Linked DNA regions of Homo sapiens: all the other regions are linked to region 3. The links are contacts of gene promoters, found by promoter capture Hi-C in blood cells and fetal thymus (Javierre and others, 2016). All regions are on one chromosome and are shown on one strand. The core of a region is centred on a gene start or on the middle of the fragment in contact, and the rest is flanking DNA. Distances in the headings are between cores, read along the strand shown. Region 1 has its middle 120 kb from the start of SIRPG. Region 2 overlaps PSMF1 (proteasome inhibitor subunit 1). Region 3 holds the start of FKBP1A (FKBP prolyl isomerase 1A).

Region 1 (3,448 bases), core at 119-2,618, 380 kb after region 3:
CTCAATCAAACAAGGGATGTGCTTGCTTATCATTGAAGGTTCTTCTTCATTTTTCATTGAGGAAACTGAGGCTCAGAGAAGTCCCCACCCCAACTCTGCACTACCTCAGCTGAGCAGAGAGAGAGATCTTACCCTGGAGGTACTGGTCCAGGCCAGTGGTTTTCTGGAAAAACCACGTCAACTTGTGCTCCACATGGCAAACGACGTGGGAGAACACATCATCATCCATCAGCGGGACAAGCACACTGCTGGTCACATTGTAGGTGTGTCCACTGTACTGGACGCTGGTCTGGGGGTTTGGGAGCTCGTGTTTGTTTTTAAGCCAGGTCACAGTAACCTGGTGTGTCGAGAACCCAGAGGATGCATAGGTCAATCGGATCCTTGTGCCAGGCTCAGATCGCTGAAGGGGGCCTTGCAACTTGTAAGGCTGGACACTCTGGCCTGCAAGGATAGACCCCTCCCATGAGAGGGCACAGAGGTGCCTGAACCCCAGTGTGAACAAATACACAGCATCTGCCAAGAAGCCCATTGCTTCCTCTTTCATAAGATGTAAAGGTTATGTTCTGATAGGAACCAGTTTCTGAATCTGATAACGGAGGCCGGACAGTGAAACTGTAGCAATGGGCAACAGCAGTTTGTAAGGAGGTCAACTCCTACAGATACTGCATAGCGAACACTCACTTGGCACCTACCCTGCCTACAGGCTCTTCCCTAAGTCACTGAGTTCTCACAGCAGCCCTCAGAAGTGGGTGCTGTTACTATCCCCATTTCACAGATGAGGAAACTGAGGCCAGGCAGGCTAAGTAACTTGTCTAAGGTCCATCAGTCAGTGGCAGAGCTGGGATCTTAGCCAGGTAGTCAGGCTCCAGGGTCGGCACCCCTTACTGTCACTCAGCCCTACCCTCAGTCTTTGAAAATGGAAGAAAACCTCATTTCTCAGAGGCTGGGTCATGGAGAAGAGGCTGGAACCATGGAGAAAAGGTTAGGAGCACAGGCTTTAGGATCTCACTCAACCCAAGTTTACATTTCCACTCTCCACTGAAGCCCAAGCAACTTAACTCTCTGAGCCTCAGTTTTTTCATCTGTAAAATGGGGGCGATTTTTTTTAATAGAAGAAGAATGGCTTAAATTTTATAACAACTATTCATCCCATTTTGATATCTGGAGTATAATTAAATTCAGACTTCCTTTGTTTATTTAGCCATTAGTTTTGATGAAGTACATTTTTCTTTTCTTTCTTTTTTTAAATTTTATTTTACTTTAAGTTCTGGGATACATGTACGTAATGTGCAGGTTTGTTGCATAGGTAAACATGTGCCATGGTGGTTTGCTGCACCTATCAACCCGTCACCTAGGTATTAAGCCCCGCATGCATTAGCTTTTGGTCCTGATGCTCTCCTTCCCCTCACCTGCTGCAACAGGCCTCGGTGTGTGTTGTTCTCCTCCGTGTGTCCATGTGTTCTCATTGTTCAGCTCCCACTTATGAGTGAGAACACGTAGTGTTTGAGTTTCTCTTCCTGCATTAGTTTGCTGAGGATGATGGCTTCCAGCTTTATCCACATCCCTGCAAAGGACACAATCTCATTCCTTTTTATGGCTGCGTAGTATTCCGTGGGGTATATGTACCACATTTTATTTATCCAGTCTATCACCAATGGACATTTGGATTGATTCCATGTCAAGGAATTTATTTTACTGCTTTGCTATTGTGAGTAGTGCTGCAATGAACATACGCATGTATGTATCTTTGTAATAGAATGATTTATATTCCTTTGGGTATGTACCCAGTAATGGGATCGCTGGGTCAAATGGTATTTCTGGTTCTAGATCCTTGAGGAATCACCACACTGTCTTCCACAATGGTTGAACTAATTTACATTGCCACCAACAGTGTAAAAGCGTTCCTATTGCTCCACAGCCTTGCCAGCATCTGTCATTTCTTGAGTTTTTAATACTTGCCATTCTGACTGGTGTGAGATGGTATCTAATTGTGGTTTTGATTTGCATTTCTCTCAGAGTTAATTAATAAATTAAGTGATGTAACTAGTGTAGAATATGTAGCACACAGTAATCACTATATAAACGGTAGCCCTCCGCACCATATACTCACAATGACCATCCAAGGAATTATTATTAATCATATTTTTAATATTAACAGATAAAGAAAAGGCTCAGGGAGGGTTAGTGACTCATCCAAGGGCCTCACAGTGAACAGAACTGACATTGTAACCCAGGAATTCTGACTCCAAGCCAAGGCCTTTTTCTGTTACATCATAGCTGCCTCTACTTCTGCACAGTTGGCTCTATATTAACCAATGACCTTTAATATTGTCCTACTTGCAGCTCAGCTCTGGGCTAGGCACTGTGGAAACTGCAAACAGTCACTGCAGAGAACTTGCTATGGGCCCCATTGTCCAGATGCCAAGCAGGAGTCAAGGAAAGGAATCTTAAGCAGGGCTCTTTGAGGTGGGTATAACAATTGTCATTACAACAATGGAAAACTTGACTCAGAAAGGGAGTTGCGGCCAGGTGTGGTGGCTCACGCCTGTAACCCAGCACTTTGGGAGGCCGAGGTAGGTGGATCACCTGAGTTCAGGAGTTCGAGACCAGCCTGACCAACACGGTGAAACCCCATCTCTACTAAAAATACAAAATTAGCTGGCCATGGTGGTGTGTGCCTGTAATCCCAGCTACTTGGGAAGCTGAGGCAGGAGAATCACTTGAACCCGAGAGGCAGAGATTGCAGTGAACTGAAATCACACCATTGCACTCCAGCCTGGGCCATAAGAGCAAAACTCCATCTCAAAAAAAGAAAGGGAGTTGTTTTGTCTTAGGTCACATGGCTGGGGACACTGATCTGTTTGACTCCGACGTTTGGCCACCTCGAAACATAAGAGCCAGTCCCTGCTTCAAGGATGTGAGAGTCTAATCACGGAAGATGGGTGTAAATGGAATAAAACCCCAGGTCGGGGGACTTTGGGAACGCCCTTGTAGTTTAAATACTAATTGTGAGAACTAACTGGTATGGACCGATAAGACCACACAATTCAGGAAGAAATAAATATCAGAAATAGAGCATTTAAAATTGAGATTTGAGAAGAGACTTGAGATAACACTAAGCTTTGTATTCTCGGGCAGGATAGGAAAGAAAAATGCAGAAAAACACATTGAATTTTTGAACAGACACGCCTGCATTCTAACCCCAGCTATGCTGTTTGGAACCTCTGAGACCTTGGTCCCTGTGCTAGCTCTGGGCTCTGTTGTAGGATCAGATAATGTATTTGAGGATGCCTAGTGTGCAGTAAATGCTCTACGGGTGTCACCCAGTAGGAACAGAGACAGAGTGGGGAGTTCGTAACAGGTGAGGGTGCTGATGAAGGCATTTATGGGCCAGGTTGGGGAAGGATAGCTGCAATGCTTTGTTAACACCAAATAGAAAGGGGCCTAA
Region 2 (3,912 bases), core at 832-3,331, 270 kb before region 3:
TCTCAGGCCTTAGAGTTTTCTTTTCTTTTTCTTTTTCTTTTCTTTTTTTTTTTTTTTTTTTTAATCCGAGATGTCTCACTCTGTCACTCAGGCTAGAGTGCAGTGGTGCTATCTTGGCTCACTGTAACCTCTGCCTCCTGGGTTCAGGCAATTCTGCCCCAGCATCCTCAGTAGCTGGGATTACAGGTCCCCGCCACCATGCCTGGCTAATTTTTTTTGTATTTTTAGTAGAGACAGGGTTTCACCATGTTTGCCAGGCTGGTCTCGAACTCCTGAATGCAAGTGATCTGCCTGCCTCTGCCTCCCAAAGGGCTGGGATTACAGGCAAGAGCCACCGCGCTCAGCCTCAGGCCTTTGATTTTTCATCAGAGGAAGTTAAACCACGTGACTGTGTACTTAGGCTACTTTCCAACTGTGGCTTTCTGGGACTCTTGATATTTGATGTCAGGGTTTACAGGGCAGTTGCAGACCATGTTTGGCCTGATATCGCCAGGGTCTGTCCTCTGTTTACTGGGGAACATCAATTGCACTGCAGTTAGAGATATCAGTTTCACCTGACTTCAGGGATTTTCTGTAACTCTGGAAGCCAAAGGTGATGGGGTGGTGAGCAGACCAAATTGTTTATATTCCAAGAGAGAACTCTGGTGGATTGAATGCTGTACATGGAGGATATAATATAAATTTAAAGGCGTTTGCCAGAGCAAAGATGAGGATGTCATCAAATTCCTGGCTTCCAAAGTAAACAAATCCACGACACTAAACACTAAACATATTCGGGAAATTTACCCAGTTTGGGGTGAGGGGATAGTTTCTTTTTCGCAGAAGAATGGTTTGATTAGTTTTACTTTTGTTTTTCCTCACTCTCATTTCTATGCTTCAGGCCTATGAATTTCATTGTCATCCAGCCAGGTTTTAAACCATGACAGTTGCGACATCCTGAATTTTATTTGGGATCTCTTTCCCCAGAGGATTTCTGAGCACCAGGGGTGACGAAACAGGAGAGGCCAGCAATTCTCAATGTGTGGTCTCCCCTTGTCCTTGGTGTGTGAAGTTTTGCTTTGCTGGACCTTTGTCTTTTCCATTTTCTTCATCTCCGGTCCCACTCCCTCCCGCTGTATTCTCATGACTACAGATCTTCCCAGTCCACCTGCCCCATGGTGAGCAATATAAATATACATCCATGAAAAAAGATTATAGCATTTTTTTGTGCTTTTTAAAATTTTTACATAAGTGGTACTGGAGTGTAAACCTCATTTTTTGGGGAACTTTTCTTTAAATCATATTTTTTCTTTTATATATAATACTATCATTAGATCTGGTTTATTCCTTCTGACTGCTATATAGTATTCCACTATAAGCATATTTTGCATTTTATCTCCACTTTTGCTACCTTAGCCAAGGCTATAATGAAGATCCTTTGTTATGTACCCTGTGCACAGGGTTTCTTCTGGGAGTAGGGATTTTGGATCATAGGATATTGGCTCATCTAATTGCACTAAAAACTGTCAGATTGCTCCCCGAAGGGGCTGTGCAAGTTTAAATGCCCACCAGCAGGGACTGGAGGTTCCCATTCTCCCCACACCTACACAGACATCTGGCAAAAAATAGAAAACTGGGTAATAACAGTCCGAATCATGTAACTTAGTGTCTCATTATTTCAGTTCTGCTTCTCTGATTGCTAGTAAAATTGAATAACTCTTTAGACACTATTAGCCGCTCTTTTTCTTGTTCATATCTTTTGCCACTTTTTGGAGTTCCCAATTGTTATTGTTCATTTTCCAGGCATTCCCTTTATGTAGAGGTTATTAATTTCTTTCCTTTGCAGCCATGGCAAATGTCTCTTCCTAGCCTGTGGCTCCTTATTAATTTAGTAGTGTCTCTGTAGAACAGAAGCTTTCAATTATGAACAGTGTCAAAGGCAGCATTTTCTTTTATGGATCTTGTTTAAGAAATCTTCCCCACCTAGAAATCACTATATTATTTTTCCTGTAGAAATAATTTGAGAACTATTTCTCAAACTTTAGTATGGAAAGTCTTAGGATTTTTAAAAAAGAAAAGAGGAAGACATCACAACTCACAATAAAAGATGTATTTTACACCCACCAGGCTGACAAGCATGAAAATGGCAAGCATTTTACCCCTACTAGATTGGCAAGCAATAATAGCAATGTTGCCAACTACACGGAGCAACAGGAGCTTTCATACATTGCTAGTGGGAGTATAAATCAGTAACTCTTTAGAAAACAACTTGACTTTATCTTATAAATTAAAAGCTTTTCCTCCATGCATACTGTATAGAAATTTATCCACGTGTACCAGATGTGTACAAGAATGTTCATAGCAGCATTGTTTATAATAGCAAAACAAATAAGCTGGAAATACTCCAAATCACCATCAACAAGTAGATGTATAAATTGCAGCATAGTCATACAGAATGCTGTGTAGCTGTGAATGTGAATCAGCTGTAGTTAAATGCATTGACATGGATACATTTCCAAAAACTATCAAATAAAAAAGGCAAATGACGGAAGTGATGCTGTGTATTTAAAATTCAAAAACATTTGAAGCTATATTTTTATGGTTGCATGTATAGTAATATAACTCTAAGGAAAAGTAAAGAAATTGTTTAAGAGTGGTGATTACCCTTGAAGGGGAAGGAGGGACATTTATTGGAGTATGCTACCCAAGGCTTTAGCAGTATTGCTGATGTTCTATTTCTTAAGCTGGTGGTAGAGACATTTTATAATTCTTTGTTATTTGTACATGTGCTACATTTTGTGTATTATGAAATTATAATTTTTGTACATCACTGCAGTCAGTTAGCGTGTATTCGGATCTGTGTTTTTAGTCAACACCTTGGTAATCCTATTGAAGTTAGCCTAACGTCCAAACTTTGAAAAACACTACTTAGAACTTCGCAGTGTTCCTCAAGATGACTGGCTTTATTCTTAGCAGTGGGATGGGGAAGAGATAATTATTAAACCAACACTGCAGATTCTTGACAGGTTCCAGTGCTGTGTCAGAAAGGTAGCTCAATATGAGGGAGAGCGCAGTAGAACAGAAGCCCAGAGACCTGGGCCCTAGACCTCTCTCTCGCTGTAGGATCTTGGGCAAGTCATTTCTCTTGACCTCCACATCTTCATCTGTGAAGTGAGGTGGGTAAGATTAGCTTATCTCGTGAGGTTCTTTATAGTTCTGTGTTTTGAGTTCATGATCTTTCTCCTCTCAACTGTGGTCTTCCCAGCCGGGTCCCAATGATAAGAAGTCAGAACTGCTGCCAGCTGGGTGGAACAACAATAAAGACCTGTATGTCCTCCGGTATGAGTATAAGGATGGGTCCAGAAAGCTCCTTGTGAAAGCCATCACCGTGGAGAGCAGCATGATCCTCAATGTGCTGGTGAGTCTCTGGGACACGTGAGTCTGCTGATGAGATGGGGATAGGAATGGCTGTTTTGAAACCCATTTAACGGTACGAATCCAGAGCTTCAATGTTCATGTAGCCCTTACCTAGTGATCCCACTTCTGGAACTTTATCTTAAGGTGAGAACCCTAAGTATAGAAAACCTTCGTGCACAAAGGTATCCACCACCTGGAATTAAGAAGGAGGGGCTTTCTGTCAACAGGGGAATGGTTAAATAAGGTAAATCTATTCAGTGACAAGATAGAAGGGAAAAACTTAGGTAACCCCAATGGGCTACTTCAGTTCCTTAAATAAATTGAATTCTTTGCTGCCTTGGAGCCCTTGCACTTTACATTTCCTATGCTGGAAGGCTCTTCCCCTCCCCCATCTGCCACTCACACAGCCCTTCACCATTCCTTCATCCTGGACAATTCTCTTTCATTTTTGACTTCCTCAAAAATTTCAGTTCTGACTACCCAGTCCTACTCCCCAAAAAAATCTAAATTATGTCT
Region 3 (3,579 bases), core at 779-3,278:
TGCTGTGTGGGGATATTTCACAAAGAGACATGGTGAAGTGCGGCACTGCCTACATGCTGGGGTCCAGTCCTGTTGGCAGCACCAGAACATGGGCGAGCATGAGGGGCAGACGTGGGAGTGGGACACATGCTGCCAAGCACCCTAGTGTGGCTATGTACAAGCTAGGGTGGGGAGGGGGTGCGGCAGAAGGCAGCTCCTCACGGCTTGAGTCCCAATCTTTGCCCCAGTTGGCTGCGGAACTGAATGAACTGCCCACTCACCCCAGCACTGTAAATGGTTACTCTCCTCATCCTTCCGATGACAAATCACCAAAAGGATGCGCTTTCATCTACCAGACCTCCCAGGCTCAGGTGCTGACTGTGGCCTACAAGGACAGCTATCTAAAACATCAAAAGCACTTTCCAGCTTCCTTCACGGACATGAGACTGCCTGCTCCCCAGAAAGATGGGTTTCAGTAACTCCTCCTTTGGCAGAATTTTTAAAGTTCTAGTCCTTAACTTCTACCTCCTGCCCCCATTTCTACCCACGGGGAAGGGCCACAGAAATAAAAGGGCATGGGAGGGGGGATGTTAGTTGCCTTTTCCTCTTTCCAGTGAAAGTCATTTCCCTCAATAGAGGGATCCCTCCATGTTTCCATGATTTGGAAGAGAAAGGTGGAGCTTATTCGTGAGCAACTTGGCCAGAACTGCCCACAGCCTACTACCCAGGAGGAGGAAGAGGAGGAGAGGGAGTGGGAAAAAAAGAGGGAGGAGGAGGGGGAACAGAGGAAAGGGTGGGAAGGTTGAGAAAGGGGAAGGAGGAGGGGGAGGGAAGGTTATTCGTATCAACAACTGTGGCTACACCAATCACTGCCACCCTTGTGGGACCCACAGCCACTGAGTCTCCGCCAACTCAGCTCTCCCCCTCCCCCGCCCCCATACAAACCAGGACAAGCTTGTAAGGAGAAGGAGTAAGACAGCCCCAAGGCACACGACTCTGATGTCTGAATTCTGGCTGGGGAGGGGGAGGTGTCTAAAATTTCCTTTGGCTTGTATTATCACTATGTATTAGCCTCCAGATGCTTATCTTTAAAATGAGGACGAGAAAAGTCTCTACTTCTAGAAGAGCTGGGGGACTAAATTACACGTGCAGCTTTCGGTCAGCCTGAGCCAGCGCTGTCACTGAGCCTTGGATTTGTAAGTGGCTCAAAAGTAAAAAGACGGAAGAAGGCCGTGCAGCTCTACTTCCCCCAAGGCCAGGAAGGGCCAAAGCAATGACTTAGGAAGTGGGATGTTTCCCCACCCTAGGCAAAGGGGCGAATTCCGAGTTCCCCGGAGGAAGCAGCAGCTCTGCAGACTCGGAATTACCTCGTCCTCATCTCCAGTGAAGGGAGGGATGGAAGTGGGGGCAGGGGCACAGAAATGGTACAAATCCTTCCTAATGGTCCCTGGCCAGAGCTCTGCCCATTCCTGAAAGTGTGACCTTGGGAAAGTGAGACCTTGGGAAAGTGACTTCGCCTCGCCAAGCCTCAGTTTCCTCATCTGTGCAGCGGGCATAAGGGCAGCATCTAAGGTGCAGAAATGCTTCTGACGGGTCAGATAACACCTAGCCCGCAGCCGACGCTCACAGCCGCCGATTCAGACCCGCCCGGGTTCCGCAAGCCCCAGGCTGCCCCTGAGCCACCGCCCAGGCCTCAGCCTCGGGCCATGCGGACCTCGCCGCCGCCACGCCCCGGACCCCAGGCCCCGGGCCCCCAGGCCTCGACGGCCAGCCGCACCCGGGCTGCGGACTGCGGCCCGGGCCCCCTCCCCGCTGGGCCCCCGACTCACCGGTGTAGTGCACCACGCAGGTCTGGCCGCGCTTGGGGAAGGTGCGCCCTGAGGAGACAGAGACGGGCATGCTGAGCCGATGCGCGCGGCGGCAGAGGTACTCCGAGCCGCCGCGCGCCACTACTCACCGTCTCCTGGGGAGATGGTTTCCACCTGCACTCCCATGGCGGCGGCGGACGCTGAGCGGGCGGGCGGCGCGACGGGCGGCGTGGACCAACAGCGACCTGGCGGCGGTTCCACGGCTCTGCCTAGTACCTCGGCGCGTCGCCTGCGCACGCGCACGCCCCCTCACGCCCAGCCCTGCGTGCGCGCCCCACACGGCGCGCGACGTCCCGGAAACCCAGGCCTCCGGAAGAGGGACCGGAAGCCCAGAAGCCCCGAGACCTCCGGAAGCCCGGAGGCCTCCGGATACAGCTGTGTTTGCCGGGTGACTTGCTTCGTTCTCCTGCCCTTCCTCTGTGCTTCCAGCCGGTTAAGCATCTCCCTGCCCAAAGAATGGGAGTAATAATAGGGGGTCCGCCAGTCACTGACTGGGTGACTGTCATCAGGTTTCCACTTAGAAGCACACAGTTACTCATCCTGGGAAGAGCATGGTTCTGAGAAGACAGCGCACAGGTGGTGGTAGTATGTTAGTATTTTATAAGTGGCTCAAGGTTGTAAGTTCTGCTTTTCTTCACTGGAGGAGGAGTTGTCCAAATTCATTCACTCACCCATAGCTTACATGCATACATTCTTATTGAGCATGTGAAAGTTGATAATACGAATTGGGTCACTCTTCTTATGCCCAACGGAATCAGAATCCAGGGGCCAGGGGAAAAGCACTGGAGGCACGCAGCGCCTGCTCCAAGAACCAATATTTCCACTAACTGCTGCGGAAATGGCCTGCTGTCCCCCTGAGACCAGATTCAGCTAGTAACTGCTGAAACAACCCGCCATAACCTAATACTAGTTTTACTTACCACTGTCAGTCACCAATCAGAGCTTGCCAGCTCCCTGAAACTTTACTAGTGCCAATGCATTTCCCTTTCTAATAAAACGCCCAGCCTTCTCTTTGTTTTTCGGACATACCAAAGACCACCAGATCTGTGTGTATGCTCCGAGTTGCGATTCTCGCTTCCCCAAATAAAACATTACATTTAGAGATTCATCTCCATATTTTATTTTGACTTTGACAAGCACCTTCTGTATGTCATGTACTGTGCTAGGTGCTGAGGATACAGCGGTGAAGGAGTCAGACTTAGTCCCTGACCTCACAGAATCTACGTATGATGTGGGAGAGATAATCAAATAACCTGTTTAAGTAAAAAAAGATACGGAATAAATGTAAAGTTTCAAATCTGTAATATTATGAGACAGTAATACATGCTGTGAGGGGCGTGTTAATATAACAGAGATGCCTCACTTAGTCTGGAATGTGGTCAGATATTTCCCTGAGTTAGCCAGGTTTAGCCAGGTTTAGCCAAGGTTAGAAGGCCAATTGTGTGTATGTGTTGGGGTAAGGGGAGGCAGAAGGAGCAGTACCTGCAGAGGCACTGTAACGCAAGAGAACACTGTGACATGGTCTAGGACATAAGGAGGCACATGTGACTAATCTTTCTCTGATCTGTGTGTGTGTGTGCTTCTGCATTAGTCGATTCTCACACTGCTATAAAGAATACCTGAGGCTGGGCACGGTGGCTCATGCCTGTAATCCCAGCACTTTGGGAAGCTGAGGCGGGCAGATCACTTGAGGCCAGGCGTTCAAGACCAGCCTGGCCAACATGGTGAAACC

What was found. Contacts are between HindIII fragments. The CHiCAGO score rates a contact against its expected background, and 5 or more counts as called.
Region 1: a contact is called between a fragment that was not itself captured here and the fragment with the promoter of FKBP1A in region 3, in 1 of 17 cell types (fetal thymus). The highest score is 5.5, in fetal thymus.
Region 2: a contact is called between a fragment that was not itself captured here and the fragment with the promoter of FKBP1A in region 3, in 3 of 17 cell types (naive CD4 T cells, fetal thymus and total CD8 T cells). The highest score is 6.4, in naive CD4 T cells.

What each region holds. Positions count from the first base shown.
Region 1 is chr20:1,773,102-1,776,549 of GRCh38, forward strand. It overlaps the pseudogene LOC100289473. Among named protein-coding and RNA genes, the nearest start is that of SIRPG, 120 kb to the left of the region's middle. The HindIII fragment of the contact is 3,499 bases long and covers 1-3,118 here.
Region 2 is chr20:1,122,254-1,126,165 of GRCh38, forward strand. It overlaps PSMF1 (proteasome inhibitor subunit 1), which reads left to right. Exons shown (of 7, transcript NM_006814.5): 2 at 3,245-3,397. Among named protein-coding and RNA genes, the nearest start is that of PSMF1, 5.6 kb to the left of the region's middle. The HindIII fragment of the contact is 380 bases long and covers 1,892-2,271 here.
Region 3 is chr20:1,391,026-1,394,604 of GRCh38, forward strand. FKBP1A (FKBP prolyl isomerase 1A) reads right to left here and starts at 2,029. Exons shown (of 5, transcript NM_000801.5): 1 at 1,937-2,029; 2 at 1,809-1,856. The coding sequence starts at 1,973. FKBP1A-SDCBP2 (FKBP1A-SDCBP2 readthrough (NMD candidate)) reads right to left here and starts at 2,147. Exons shown (of 10, transcript NR_037661.1): 1 at 1,937-2,147; 2 at 1,809-1,856. It overlaps MIR6869 (microRNA 6869), which reads right to left and starts at 1,936; the gene lies at 1,875-1,936. RefSeq lists enhancers at 116-629, 1,421-1,921 and silencers at 1,656-1,725, 1,736-1,835, 2,036-2,085. The HindIII fragment of the contact is 4,016 bases long and covers 932-3,579 here.